Linked DNA regions of Homo sapiens: region 2 is linked to region 1. Evidence: promoter capture Hi-C in human tissues and cell types (Jung and others, 2019). All regions are on one chromosome and are shown on one strand. Each heading gives the region's core, a stretch centred on a gene start or on the middle of the fragment in contact. The rest is flanking DNA. Distances are from core to core; before and after follow the strand shown. Region 1 holds the start of S100P (S100 calcium binding protein P). Region 2 has its middle 17 kb from the start of WFS1.

Region 1 (2,700 bases), core at 104-2,603:
ACTTTGAGATGTCGAGGCTGACGCATTGCCTGAGCACAGGAGTTTGAGACCAGCCTGGGCAACATGGTGAGACCTTGTCTCTAAAAAAAATACAAAAATTAACCGGGTATGGTGACATGCACCTGTAGTCCCAGCTACTCGGTAGGCTGAGGTGGGAGGATCACCTGAGCCCAGGGAGGTCGAGGCTGCAGTGAGCCGTGATCCTGCCACTGCACTCCAGCCTGGGTGACAGAGTGACATCTTGTCTCAAAAAAAAAAAAAAAGAAAAGAAAAGAAAATAGAAGCAATATTCTGAAGTGTTTCATGTCTTTGAAGTGATTCTAGGGCTGAAAATTTCAGGCTTTCATTTTTGATTATCAGCATCTATGTGGGTTAGCCCCTTAGCAGGTAGGCAGAGTCTGGTGGGGCCCGAAGGGGAGGGGAAGGAAGGAAGAAAGTGGGGGAGTGAGAAAGAAGGAGAGGACAGGGGTCAAAGGGAAGGGGAAATGGAGAGGGTACGGCTTCTGTTCAGCCCAGCCGGAGGCTGCCCCGGGCGGAAGGAAGCTGGTCCTGGCCGCCCTGAGGGGCCTTCTGTGAGGCTCAGGCCGGTGGCTCCTCCCTGGCAGGGAGCCCAAGGGAGGTCCACAGCTCTGCGCAGACAGGTGCCAGGATGGAGCCTCCTCCCGTCCTTCCTGCCAGACCCACTAATACCAGGCAACAAGGGGCCTGGGAATGGGAGCAGGGAAAGCGGGCAAGTGGGAGGCAGAGCTGGGGCGTTTATGGCCGGCAGCCTTGGAGGACAGCCCCGAGGGCTCAAGGGCTTGGCAAGCTTGGCAAACTTGCAAATGGCAGCCCTGGATTGCATTCCGCCCCTGCCCCCACTGCACAGGTTTGAGTCCCACTCTCCCACCAGGCCTGTCACAAATACACTGGGGTCAACCCCATGTTTCAAGGATCAAGCTGACCACACCCTCTCCCTGCTCAGATGCTCCCGCCTCCCCTGCCTTTATGCCAGGGTGGGTCCGTTCCTTGGCTGGGCTTCCAGGGCATTTCAGGATCTGTCCCTCTTGCCTCTGAGCCCCTTGACCGCCGACCCCACCGCAGCTCTCAGCCCTCTGCCTGCCACGCCTTCCCCTTCTTCCCCAGCCCCCGCTGAGTCCAGCACTGCCGGCCTGGCTCACCTGCAGGAAGCCTGGTAGCTCCTTCTCCATCAGCACCTTGAGCTCCCCCTTGGTCAGGGTCTGCGTGCTGCCCTCGCTGCCCGAATATCGGGAAAAGACGTCTATGATCATGCCCATGGCTGTCTCTAGTTCCGTCATGGTGCTAGATTCAGACCCACCTTCCTCCTGGGGGCTGGCAGGGCCGAGAAAATGTCCCACTGGCAGCCTCTTGGTGCTTTATAAGGCAGCCTCATATTGACACAGAGGGTGGGACAGTGGGGTTGGGACATTCAGGAAGTCCTGCCCCTCCCCATTCATGTGCTCAGTTCTGATGAAATGCATCGTTGTGATGACGTTTCTGGAACCTTTCCCCCAGCCAAGGCCCAGGGTGTGGGCTGCCTCCAGGCATCCACATTTTACAGTGTTCACCTGTGTCTCGGCGCCATCACTGAGCCACAGTGGCATCCTCATTCCTGGCCCTCCCTGGGTAAGTGGGCACGGGGTGAGTGTGTGTGGAGTGAGTGGTGACTCCGTGGCCCTTTGTGTCAATATCAGAGCGTGCTGGCACCCAGCGTGCTGACACGAGGAGACATCTGAGAGTGAATTCACATGGGCGTGTTTGTGAACATGGATCTGCCCCATCGTCCCTTTCTTAGAGCACTCTGTGTCCTTCAGAGGCCCAGCTTCCACGTCAATCTCGCTCGCTCCTCCCCTGTGGGGCCAAACAGAAAACTCCCCTTCATCCTCTGGGAGTTTGCTGAAAATCAACGGGCAGAAGGCAGATGAATAGGAGAAGAGCATAACAGATGTATTTGATCATAGCTTATGTGGCACGGCAGCCTTCAAGATGAAGATCCAAAGATCTGGTGGAAACTATCCATAAACACAGTTCAGCGAAGTATGGAAATATGATTGGATACAAAAGTAAGGCTGGATGCTCACAGACCAAGAGGAGAGCCTGGTAGGGCCTGTTGAGTCAGATTCCCTGGGGCCTCTCTGAGCAGCTCTCCTTCCTTCTAGGTGTGGGGCAGGACTCTTTCTGGAATGGAGCTCTTATGACCTACAGTCAAATAAAGCAGGCCAGAGGGTTTCTTTAGGCTGGTTTCTACACAGAAAGGGGAGGGAGTGGAGAACTGGAGTCATATTTCTGGGTTTTATGGCAGGGTTTGGGGAAGCCTCTCAGAGGAGGAGGAGCTGGAGACAGGAGGGTGGGAGCAGGACAGAGAAACTTTTGTTTCTGAGGCTTCCACGTTGGGGTGTTGTTTTTTGAGCCCCGGCACTTACCAAACCCAAATCACCCACAGGGCTTAGACGGCACAAAGGCTCCTGGGACTCTGGGCAGAGTCAGGGACAGTCACACCCCTCCCCGTCTCTATAGCGGAGGTACTCAGAGGGTCTGTGCTTGGGAGGCTGAGCGAGTCCTGGAGAGCATGGAGGTAGGGGCCTGTGTTCACATCCTGCCCCGGTCAAAGTAGGCCCACACTCAAAGGCCTCTCTCTCAGCAGAGATCTTCCAGAGTGTCAGCCTCCAGCAAGTTCCCTAACCTCTCCCAACACAGCCT
Region 2 (2,700 bases), core at 43-2,542, 440 kb after region 1:
ATGCAATCTTGGGCCCTGCCCTGGACCTGCCCATGGGAATGTGCATGTTAACCCAACCCCCATCTGATTCCTGAGCACAGTCACATTTGAGTCCTGTGCTCTAAAGTGACAGAGTTCAGACTTTGAGAGTCTGAATGAGGCAAGGTAAGGATTTTCATAGCTCTGAGAGAGGGTTCTCCTGAGAGGGGACAGACATGGCGTTTGCACGGACTCACACGCTGTGGTATGAGACACATGATCACACTCACTCATTTCTCTCATAAATCTTCACTTCCTTAGAACCTACCCTCCCGTTAGACACTAGCTGTGTCTTCTTCAGCCTGACGGTCCTCTCCGGAAGGTGCGCGTCTGTCTCTCAGCCCAATTCAAAGAGGTGGGAGAGGCGGCCACAGCCTCTGTCGGCCTGCTGGGCACCTGGGGCTATAGAAGAGGGACCGAGGCTCAGCGAGATTAAGTGACCACATCCCACAGCTACTATGGCTGCTGCAGGATTTGAATTTAGGACGATCTCGCTGGGCCCTACTCCCAGCGAGACAAATTAACACAAAGCCCCAGGGAGACAAATTAACCCAAACCCCTGGAAGAATTTTAAAAGCAGAAGCTCAAGCCCCCCACCCCAACACAGATTTTGATTCCGTTGGTCTGGGTGAGGCTACCCAGAAGGCCCTGCTGGGTGGCTTGGGGGCCTGTGCAGAAGGCCAGGTGCACTGCTCCATGATGGCAAAACCAGCCCAGCTCCCTGCTCTCTTGCAAGGGCTCAGCATCTGGTACCAGAGCAGGAGATGCTCACAAGTGAGAATTTCTGTAGGGGTCTACAAAGCAGGTGCTTTCAAAAACAGTGCTCAAAGAAAGTGGGAATTGAGAGGCAAACGAGGGTGTTTCTACCTGGGGTGCAGGAAGGAGCAGGCACGTGGCATTTGAGCTTAGCTTTCGTGAACATATAGGCGTTCTCCGAACACAGCTTGCAGGGAGGGGCTCAGGTAGATGGAATGGCATCTGCAGGGGTTCAGGTTTACGGAAACGGGTCACCTCCCATGGTCTCCCCACTTCCTCCCCTGTCTGCCCTCCAGGCTCACCGGAGCAGCCAGTGATGTCTGGGCTCATCAGTCCTTGGACAAAGCCCTCCAGGAGCTCTGTCTTCTCAATGTAAAAGCCAAAGTCCTTCCAATGCCCCCAAGGCCTTGCGTGGCCTGGCGGTGTCACCCGTGGGCCCCATCTCCCACCTCCACTGTTTTTTTGCTCACTGGCCTCAAGCTGGCCTTGCTGGTCCTGGAACATGCTGAGCCTACTCCTGCCTCAGGTCCTTACACTTGCTGTTCCCTCTGCCTGGATGCTACACAGCCACGCCCAGAGTTCATGATCCCAACACATGTGCCACCTTCTCAGACACCCTCCCTGGCCACCCTAGGGGACACTGCAGCCCTCCCATCCCGTCCCCCTTCCTTCCTCCCTGCTGGGTGCCATAAGCTTAGCTGTTGATTTCTTCGCCTGCCTCCCATTAGAACATGAGTCCAAAGAGGGAGGGCTCCGTTTGCTCACCATTGCCCCCGAGTGCCTAGAGCACTGCCTGGCACCCGGCAGGGGCTCTATAAATAGAGATGGAAAGAGGGAGGTGGGCGGGCATGCGTGGGCTTAGGTGGGCCCAGCAAGAGATGCCCTTGGGCAGGACAGCTTGGTGTGCATGGCCAAGGAGGGTGGGTCCCAAGCCAAAGGCATTGAACACCAGGCTGAGGAGTGAGGATGCCACCTGCTGTATCACCCAGGCAATAGGGAGCCTCTAAAGGCTTTTTCTTTCCCCCAAGATGAAGTCTTGCTCTTGTCGCCCAGGCTGGAGGGCAGTGGTGGGATCTCAGCTCACTGCAACCTCTGCCTCCTGGGTTCAAGCGATTTTCCTGCCTCCCGAGTAGCTGGGATTACAGGTGGGCACCACCACGCCTGGCTAATTTTTGTATTTTTAGTAGAGATGGGGTTTCACCATATTGGCCAGGCTGGTCTCGAACTCCTGGCCTTGTGATCCGCACGCCTCGGCCTCCCAAAGTGCTGAGATTACAGGCTTGAGCCACTGTGCCCGGCCCCTAGAGGCTTTAAGCAGGGGAGTGGCCTGGTCAGAGCCATGCTCTGGGATGGTATGGCCTACCACTGTGGCCCAGCAGGCTTGAGGGTCCCAGTTAGTGCCCCTGGAGCCAAGCAGAGGACTGGACAGGATCCAGCGTGGGGAGGGAGCCCTCCCTGCTCTTGTTACCTTGGCAGAAACCCCGAGAACACTAGGTCCGTGGGCAGCCCCTGCAGGCCTGTCCTGCTCTGCTGGCCAAGGCTTGGAGCTCTGCCTGGGGCAGGAGGTGCCCATGAGAATGCCAGGGAGTGCGAGCTCCCCCAGAGACCCAGGCAACAAGCACCCACTCGACTCCAGGGCTCAGAGCCCTCGCTAGGATGCCGTCAGCATTTGGGCTGCTGCCTTTTGCACTCCAATACTTGAGTTCAAGTCCTGGCTCCACCACTGACTCCGGGCTACAGGGACCTGGGCTATAGCCATGTCCTCCTCTGAACCTTGGTTTCCCCATCTGTGAAATGGCTGGATTTGTGCCCTCAGCTCTGCCCTCTCTTACCTCGCACCTCCCTACCCATGCCCAGAGCCTCCTTGACACAGACAAATGTGCCATCGCCTCTGGAATGCTGGGCACCTTAACAGTCCAGGCCTGC

What was found. Contacts are between HindIII fragments. The study calls those that stand out against the background at their distance.
Region 2: a contact is called between a fragment that was not itself captured here and the fragment with the promoter of S100P in region 1, in 1 of the 25 tissues and cell types used here (dorsolateral prefrontal cortex).

Annotation. Positions count from the first base shown.
Region 1 is chr4:6,692,531-6,695,230 of GRCh38, reverse strand. S100P (S100 calcium binding protein P) reads right to left here and starts at 1,353. Exons shown (of 2, transcript NM_005980.3): 1 at 1,161-1,353. The coding sequence starts at 1,298. RefSeq lists enhancers at 350-1,085, 1,086-1,822, 2,132-2,669. The HindIII fragment of the contact is 18,883 bases long and covers 1-2,700 here.
Region 2 is chr4:6,251,867-6,254,566 of GRCh38, reverse strand. No RefSeq gene overlaps it. Among named protein-coding and RNA genes, the nearest start is that of WFS1, 17 kb to the left of the region's middle. The HindIII fragment of the contact is 7,012 bases long and covers 1-2,700 here.